2 separate regions of the Homo sapiens genome follow, and region 1 is linked to region 2. Evidence: promoter capture Hi-C in 16 types of primary human blood cells and fetal thymus (Javierre and others, 2016). All regions are on one chromosome and are shown on one strand. The core of a region is centred on a gene start or on the middle of the fragment in contact, and the rest is flanking DNA. Distances in the headings are between cores, read along the strand shown. Region 1 has its middle 7.7 kb from the start of CISH. Region 2 holds the start of PPM1M (protein phosphatase, Mg2+/Mn2+ dependent 1M).

The links. Contacts are between HindIII fragments. The CHiCAGO score rates a contact against its expected background, and 5 or more counts as called.
Region 1: a contact is called between a fragment that was not itself captured here and the fragment with the promoter of PPM1M in region 2, in 1 of 17 cell types (activated CD4 T cells). The highest score is 6.9, in activated CD4 T cells.

The regions. Positions count from the first base shown.
Region 1 is chr3:50,601,853-50,606,275 of GRCh38, reverse strand. No RefSeq gene overlaps it. Among named protein-coding and RNA genes, the nearest start is that of CISH, 7.7 kb to the left of the region's middle. RefSeq lists a silencer at 977-1,026 and an enhancer at 3,549-4,423. The HindIII fragment of the contact is 1,494 bases long and covers 611-2,104 here.
Region 2 is chr3:52,243,665-52,247,966 of GRCh38, reverse strand. PPM1M (protein phosphatase, Mg2+/Mn2+ dependent 1M) reads right to left here and starts at 2,208. Exons shown (of 10, transcript NM_144641.4): 1 at 1,919-2,208; 2 at 1,155-1,272; 3 at 739-993; 4 at 173-285. The coding sequence starts at 2,142. RefSeq lists silencers at 1,865-1,924, 1,965-2,334. The HindIII fragment of the contact is 3,516 bases long and covers 1,429-4,302 here.

The sequences.
Region 1 (4,423 bases), core at 108-2,607, 1.6 Mb after region 2:
TAGGAGACAAAGGCCAGTTAGACTGCCTGCAGGGTGACTGCCCTGGCCACTGCCAGGCGAGGGCTCGGGGGAGGGTGGCAGAGGTGCATCAGCCCTGAGAGATGTGTAAACAAGAAATGCCAACTCCAAATCGCAAGTGGAGAATACCCAGGGAGAGAGAGCTGTGGACTACTCCTGGGGTCAGTGTCTTGAGATGAGGAAACTAGTAGTCAGAGAAGTCAGGGCTGGTTCTCCCAGGAAGAAGGTACAGTGAGTGCAAAGGCACCAAGGCATGACTGGGAGGCACGTGTTCCTGACACACAGAACTGAAGAGGGCTTGCTCTGTGCAGTGGGGCAGGGCAATTGAATCGGGGTAGGGGCCAGTGAGCTGGCAGAGTCTGACCTGGGGCGGAGGTGTCCGGGTTCTAGTCCAGACTGGTTGGGATTGGGGGATCCTTTCTTCTCTCTCAGGGTTCAGCACACCAAAAGTGTGTGGAAGAGCAATTTCAATGAAAACACCCTCCATTACCGGACAGTCTGACTTTGGAACACTATCTGTTGAGATCTTCCTGTGTCCCGAAGTTTTCCGCACCTTTGCTTGAGGGCCCCACAGGAAAGCTTCTCTAAAGCTTTCTAACCTTTATTCTGGAAACAATCCTAACCTTCCTGTTGTCTTAGCCCTCAAGCAATTAGAAGTCTTAGAGTAGAAGAGACACTTGTTGGCAGGTTGAGAGCAAGGAGGGGTGAGGAGTGACAGGCTGATTACAGGGAGGGGTAAGGACGAGGATAGACAGCAAGAACCATGGAGTTCACACAGGACCCTGGGGACATGGAGGCAGTCATGGCAAAGAATAGGTCTGACGTTAGGTGAGAGTGAGCAAGAGGTGGGTGATGGAGGGAGGGCTGTCTTTCCTGGATGTGGTGCCCAGACCCAGGTGGCCAGCCACGTGCCTTCCCTGTTACTGGCGGCGGCCTGAGCGCTTGGCTGTCTGTAGGGCCAGATGGCACGCTTCCTCCAGGTCACCATGACCCAGCCAGGGGTATTTACAGTTCCTCATTCCTTCAGTCTGAATTTCAGCTGCTTCATTGCTTCCAGAATGCCTGAGGTAACCCCTCTGTCTGCTTCACCCCTAGATTTGAGTCACCTAGCGGATGGGTAGTGGATACAGAGGGGCCAGTGTCAAGCTGTTCCTCACCTGGTGCTGCAGCCTGGACAGAAAGCTGCTGTGGCTAGAGGAAGCACAGAAAACTGCTTTGTACACAGAGAGAAATGTCTCAAGGTGCCTGCCAGGTGCTGGGCATGGGGCGAGGGCTTGCACCTCATGTAGCACTCACCACAACTTTGGGAGTGAAGTCCAAATATTACCCACGCTACACAGATGAGGAAACCGAGGCTCAGAGCAGGGAAGGGGCTGACCACGGCCACTCAACAAGTGGGGCTCAGGGCAGAGCTAACCCTGGGGGGTCCTGACTGACCTTTTGTCCCCCGGATTACTACATGAGATGGGGAGGACAGGGATGGTGGCTTCCAGGCAAGTTGCTCTTGGATGCTGTTTTCTATCTCCTGGTATCCCTGCCTGCTGAGAGCTCTTGGCCACTGGCCTGGCCACCAAGGTCCTGTTCTCTTCACCCTGGCCTCAGCTCAAGCCAGGGCCCGGCTCCTGTCTGGGGAGGGGCTGCCAGCTACTTCTGACCCCCAACAGGTTCCAGGTTCCATCTTCTTTTCTTGTTTCCCTGCCAGGGCAGTGAATGATGCCTGCCCAGACCCCAATCAGAGACTCAGCCTAACAGATGCTGAAGATCCTCTGGCCAACGTGATCACCACTGTGTGGTCCTGGCCTAGTAAAAGGGGCACACATGTTGACACTAGCCAGGAACAAAGGGATGAGCCTTCTGGTGGGTGCAAGGACCCTGCACAACATACAAACAGTAACGAAGGTCACACTTTATCATTAAGTCCTCCACCAGCACATGTGCTCCAAAGGCACCAACTGGGCCAGACTCCATCTAGGTCCTGGAGACAGCAGGGAACAAGACAGACACGGTCCCCATACTCATTGGGCTCGTGGGCTAGCGGGAGAGACAGAGAGTGAACTAGTGAACAAATGGGTGCATAGGACAAGCTTTGAGAGTGTAAAGAAAGAAAAGCAGTGGGGGTGGGAAGAGTAACTTTGGGAATGGGGACACCCTGCAGCTGGGAGGGCGTTGGGGATAGCTCTGCAGCTTTGGGTGGCACTGAGCCTGGAGACCCAGGCAATGAGCAGGAGCTGGCCATGCAGACAACTTGCAGAAGGGATGTCCCAGGTGAAAGGAACTACAAGTGCAGTGGCCCTGAGGCAGAGACCTAGAGCCCAGAATGGCTGCCCAGGAGGGGTGGGAAGGGCAAAGGAAGCAGGTGGATTTTATTTGAGGATGGCAAAGCACCTCTTCAGAGCCTAGCAGGGGAGTGCTGTGATCTGACCCTCATTTCTAAGGGAGGTATCTGTACTCATGAGGGCCTGGAGGCAAGAGGCCAGAAAGAAGGATCTGGAGGGTAGAGTGTGGGAGCGGGGGCAGAAAGAGGTGAGGGCAGCAACTCTGTGACTCTGGGTTGGGTTCCTACCCCACTAGCAGAGGTTGTCCTCATCTACAGCTGAAGAGGGAAGGCCTCAGAGAGGGGTGGTGAGAGGCAGAGCCAGAGTTCACATCCTGATTCCAGACATTGTTTGGAATAACCACTGCTCTATTCTGCCTCCAAGGGTCTGGCTTGCTAAAGCCTAGGCACCCACAGGTTCAGAAGGCATGCAGGAGGATGGGGAGATTCAGGAGGGCTTTCTGGAGGAGGGGGTCTGGGGGCTGGGCCCTAGAGGATTCTGCCTCCAGGTGGGAAATGGGTTTGGAGATTGATCCTGTGTGGCGTCCCTCCCTGGATTCACAAGCCTCCCTCTGGAACAACCTTCGGACAGAAATGCTGCTAAGCCATCTAGGTATTTCTTGTTGCCCCCAAGGAGTGTTTGCTGGATACCACCCCCCTTCCAGACATACCACTGGGGTATCATTGGTGCCAGTGTGTACATCTCACTAGGTCCCTGCACCTAGGCTGGACTTTTAATCTACTGACTGAGCAAATCTCTCCTGGCCAAGGCTGGACACACAGCTGAGTGGGGCTGGGGTCCATGACTAGGCCCACCTCACTCTCAGATGGGGACCCTCCCGTCCTGCACGGTTGCCCACAGTGAAGTGGAAGGCGAGGGGCCGGGGGCCTAAAGGCCTAGAGGCCTGACTACGAAGGCAGGAAGACTCAGGGTCTGTGCATAGGACATCCCAGACTTCTCCAGCTCTCATAAAGGCCCTCTTCCTCCAGGAGAAGTAGGCCCTGTGCAAGCCTGGGCAGCCTTTGACACCAACCTGCTAGACCAGTTTTAAGATAAAGTAGACTTGAGCTTTGCCGGAAATTCAACAGCCTCTCATGGTGGATGTGTCCTCCCTATCCCTCCCTGGCTCCCGTGGACCACCCAAGGGGTCACTCCAAGAGTCACTCTGGGGCAGCAGGCTGGAGTTCCCACGTCTGAGACTCAAGCTAGAGGAGGTCCCTGGAGGTTTGATTTTGGTCAGAATGCAGACCTCAGAGTGGTTGGAGAGTGGCTGGGCCTGGATGCTGGGGAATGGGGAGTGAATGGAAACCGATGCTCATCTCTGAGCAGGAGGAGACACAGCAGGCCCAGGGAAGGGGAGCTTTTCTGATGTGGTCAAAGCTTCCTGCTCAGTGGAAAGAGAGTTGCTTCCATGGCCCGGGCCTCATTAAAACAGGCAGGGCCTCTGAGGGCTATGGGAACCTAGGATTGCCATGACTCCTCCAGGCAGCCCTCCAGGACTGTCTCACCCACACAGACCCTACTAGTGAGATGCTTGCGCTGGCACCGATGATGCCCTGATGACATGCCTGGTGGGGAGGGTGGTATCCAGCAAATGCTCCTCAGGCAGAGTCCTGCTCCAGGGACTCTCCCCACACCCAGCACCCATGAGCCAGATGGGGCCCTTCCTGTCACCAGAGCTGGGCTCCTCCACCAGAGGTGGGGATTGCACTCATAGTCCAGACTGGGCCAAAGCTCTGTTCTTCAAAGTGCCTCTCAGCCCTCAGCCTCCTCCCAGGAAGCACTTCACTGCTCCCACCCCCACCAGCCCCACATCAGTGACATCACTTGTGTGTGTGTGTGTGTGTGTGTGTGTGTGTGTGTGTGTGTGTGTGTGTGTGTGTGTGTGCGCGCGCACGCGCGCACGCATGCTTGTGCTGACCTTTCCACTTGGCCAACATTCCTTTGTTTTTCTCAGCTCCTTCCAGTGGATGGCTGTGGGAGGAGGAGCTGCTGGGAGAGTAGGTTCTCAGGAAACATTTCCCCCAAAGCCCCAGGGACACGGAGCCCACGAGACATGAGAAAATGAGGCTTAACCAGGAGGAGAGGTG
Region 2 (4,302 bases), core at 959-3,458:
CCCTGCCCTCCCCGGCAGCCACTGTCCACACTCGACACATAACAAGTACACACACAATTCAGCCAGTCAATCCTTCCTACTATCCCTCCACTTCCAGCCACCTTTGCTTGTCCCCATTGCTGCTTATGCCCTCCCCATCCCACCCTTGCCCACCCTCCAAGGGGTGACTCACCTGCTATCCCCAGCATTGGCCATGTACAGCTTTCCCTGCAGGGACACAGCCACCAGGGCTGTGCAGCCGCCCATCTGGCCTGAGGCCTCCAGCTCCCGCCCGATCACCTCATCCTGGGGAAAACCGAGGCCACCTTAGCTGCTGCCTGTTCTGCCACCATACTACTTTGTCTCTCAATCCCCACCCTACCCTACAGTTCACTTCTACCAGCAGGCCTGACAGTCCCAGCCCAAAGTCCAGCCATACCTCCAAGATCCCTGCAGTCAGGAGATCTAGACAAGGGAAGTGCTACTCAAAATAGGAAGAGAAACCAGCCCCTGCACCAAGGACCAATAGGGTATTCAATTAGATGATGCAGGTAAAAGCAGTTAGCACACAGTAGGTGCTGGATAAATGAGAGGGGTTATGCTGATAGTGATGGCTGTTAGTAACAATCCAACCAACCCAATCTCATCCTCCCAATCCAAGGATCTGGTGTGATGACCATGGGTATACAGAGATGCCATTTCCTGAGATCCCCGGGGCAAAATCTCCACTTCTTCCCCAGCCAAAAGCCACACACTCACACATTCCTGAAAGGCACTCTCCAATGCCCCGATCACCAAGTCTTCTGCCCTGATGCCCTTTTCCTCCACAAACTGAGGGTCACTGGGGCAGATGCAGCGGCCATTGAGGTGCATGGGGGGCTGAGTGGCCACCAAGCCTTCCACCACGGCCTCCAGCTGCCGGCGCAAGCAGGAGTGCAGGGTGTTGGCAGCCAAGATGGCTGCTGCAGGACCGCCGTGCCCATCGAACAGTGCCCAGTAATGGCCTGTCAGGAACTGCACAGGAAGGGCTCAGTGTCAGCCTCTGCCTGACTTCCCCACTTGTCCCCTGACGCAACCTAACTAGGACCTGGGGCAGCAGGGTAAGAACCTCAGCCTGCAGGTCGTGGCCCCAGCCTGTCGGAGGGATTCCAGCCAAGAACTCAGACTGCACTCACCTCCTCTGGGCACAGGGTCAGCCACTCTTCTTCAGCCCCAAACTCACATCTCCGGATGCACAGCTTCCCACAGGCGGCTTGATCCTCATTGAATTCAGATTTCTCTGCATTGATAATCCTGAGGCCGGGAAATGGTAAGCGACCCTCCAGGGACACACCTATGTCCCCATGGGCACAGGGACCCAAGCCAGCACAGGGAGAAGACCCCTCCCTCTGGGGCAACAGCTCCCCAGTGCTGTCCCTAACACACACTTAGACAACCACGATGTAAGCTTCCTAACTTCACTGGCCTCATGGCTAAGGTAAAAGTCAGGGCCCAGCTCCTCTGGAGCCTACCTGGTGACCCAGGGCTAGACGGTAAGGGTAGGTTGCCATTCCTGCCCCTGTCCTGTCGCAGCCCAAAGCCCTGTCCCATACAGCGCAGGTCATACCCAGGGTGAGATGGTGGGGGTAGAGGGCGAGGGGAAATCTCCAAAGCCCCGAATGCTGGAACTCTACCGAGTCTCTGGGCCTCATCTTGGAAGCCCCTGGGCTGCAGGTCCTTCCCGACCTCCTGTCTTCTCTGAGGGGGAGGTCGGAATCCCAAGGAAAACGCTGGGTCGGGATGACCGGGAAGTTGTCAGGATTCGGAGGTGAGGGCAAGAAGGGGCTGTCCACAGGTGGGTGGGGACTGTCACTCAGCTCCTCCCGCTTTCTAGGCGGGCGCAGGACCCGAAGCGGGTTCAGGCCCGGGCCTGAGCTGGGGGTCGGGGAGGGGCACTCACTCGGCGTAGCCTGCATTCCAGGGTAGCGTGCGTCCTCGTGCGGGGCTGCGCACGGGCCGGGAGTCTGGGCGGCGCGAGGCGTCGGCCGCCCCGGGGCTGGAGCTGGAGCCGCGAAGGAAGCGGGGCCGTCGGTAGGGCACGGGGCTGGCATGCGGCCCAGGCGGCCGCGGCGCGGGGAGCGGCTCCCCAGGCAGGAAGCGGCGCCGGAACCAGCCGGCGGACATGGCGCGGCGGCAGGGGGCTGCCCGCGGAGCGCGGGGCGCTAGGGCTGGGCCGCCCGCGGGAGGAAGAAGCGGGCCGCGGGCGGAGCCGAGGGAGGGGTGCGCCGGCGGGAGGCGGGGCCGGGGGCGCGCAGACGGGAGGCGTCGCCCCCCAGCCCCGACCTCCGCCCGGGAGTGCGTGCGCGGCTGGTTCGCTGACTCCAGGGGTCAACGCTCGCGACCGCCTGAAGAAGCCCACGCCGGCATCAGCCCCATTTGACAAGCAGGAAAACCGAGGCCTAGAGAGGCGAAGTCGCCTGCCCAGCGTCCCACAGTAGCCAGGGAGGACTGTTCACCCACGCTTGCGGGGCACTGGTGGTTGAGAGGAAAAGTCCCCCACACTCCGCGGGGCCAGCGTCGCGCAGATCCTCGGACCTCCTCCTGCTGGGTGGGGACCTGACGCAAGGGGAAGATGGGGACAAAATGAGCTGGGAGGTGTCAGACCCCCACATTGAGTAAATGCCACCGAGCACAGGTTCCTTCAGGCGGCCTCCAATCCTCTCCACCCCGGCCTGCCACCCTCCACCCCAGACGGGCTTAGTGGGCACCTTGGCTTTCCCCGTCCTGAGAGGCTGCTGCCACCCTCGAGGACAGTCTTCCAAATGGCTGTCCCTGCATTCAAGATGTCTTCGCGGAATAGACAGCAGGATCCTTACTGGACTGTGAGTGAGTGACGGACAAGAGAAATCTGTGTGAGTGTAAAGGGGAATCCGTGGTCCCCCAAAGGCTCCAGCTGGTCCGAGTTCAGACCTGGGACGGAGGGAAGTGAAAGACGAGGAACCATCTTGCGGTCTCTCAACCACTGGCTAGCTGTCACCAGGCGGTCAGCCGCAGTGTCCCCTTCACATCTGCGAGTTAACAAAGCACTTTGTCACCCATTTGTCACTCAAGTCCAACTCCCTGTGCAAAAGTGTTACTTTGGCCGGAGGCAGTGGCTCACGCCTGTAATCCCAGTGCTTTGGGAGGCCGAGGCGGGCGGATCACTTGAGGTCAGGAGTTCGAGACCAGCCTGGCCAACATGGTGAAACCCCGTCTGTACTAAAAATTAGCCAAGCGTGGTGGTGTGCGCCTGTAATCCCAGTTACTCAGAAGGCTGGGGCACAAGAATCGGTTGAACCCAGGAGGCAGAAGTTGCAGTGAGCCGAGATGGAGCCACTGCACTCCAGCCAGGGCAACAGAGCGAGACTCAGTCTCAAAAAAAAGAGTGTTACATCATATGGACGATTCTGAGGCCCATGGAGGGGAAGTCTTGGACACCCAGGGCTGTACTATTTCCATTATGACAATGCAGCTGACTCAATCCTCGCCCCCAGGGCACTTCTCTTCCCCTTTCCTCCTCCAGGAAGCCAGGGCTTGCCAATTAAAAGCGGCTAAGGCTCCACAGCCCAGTGCCTGCATATGAGCTGTATGAGGAGTCCACCTTCACCTCCACTCCCTAGCCCAGGTAGACGCTCAGTAAGCCCTACTTCCTCCCAGCAGCTAGTCCTGCCCCAGTGGGAGTTCCTCGGGCCCAAGAAGGAAGGTTCTTAGGGCAGGGACCTGTGCCCAACACCCACTCCCTCCGATGACTCAGTCCCAGACCAGCCTGGGGGCTGATTGACTGAACCCACAGTGTCTGCTGGGGCCACACTGGGCACAGGAACGCAGTGCTAATGGAGACAAGCCAGGCCTCTGCCCACCAAGCCCCCTGCAGTGATGGTAGCAGTTCTGGTGGATGCTGCTTCATCCAGCTGGCAAGAGGATAGGGGCGATGTCAGAGAAAGTTTCCCAAAGGACCTCTGAGCTGTGAATTGTCACTGTGACAGAACAGAAAGGTACCAGGGTGGGGCAGGCCCAATTCAGTCTATGGGGCCACTTCCTCACCCTCACCAGTTGATGCCTCAGAGGATTTTAAAGTCTAAAATTGGACAAAACAAAGTGCATACACTCTATTCCCCAACCCACCCCTGGGTGGGGGAAAGCCTTGTCCTGAAGTATTTTCACAGAAGCTCTGGGCAACCAAATGTCATAGGCAGTCTGTTGCACAGCTTAGCCATTGTCTATTTTCAGAGCCATGTGGAACCACATGGCAATCCCATCCTCTCTGTTCCAAGGTGGCCTGAGTGTTCCTTCAGTGCTACCAGG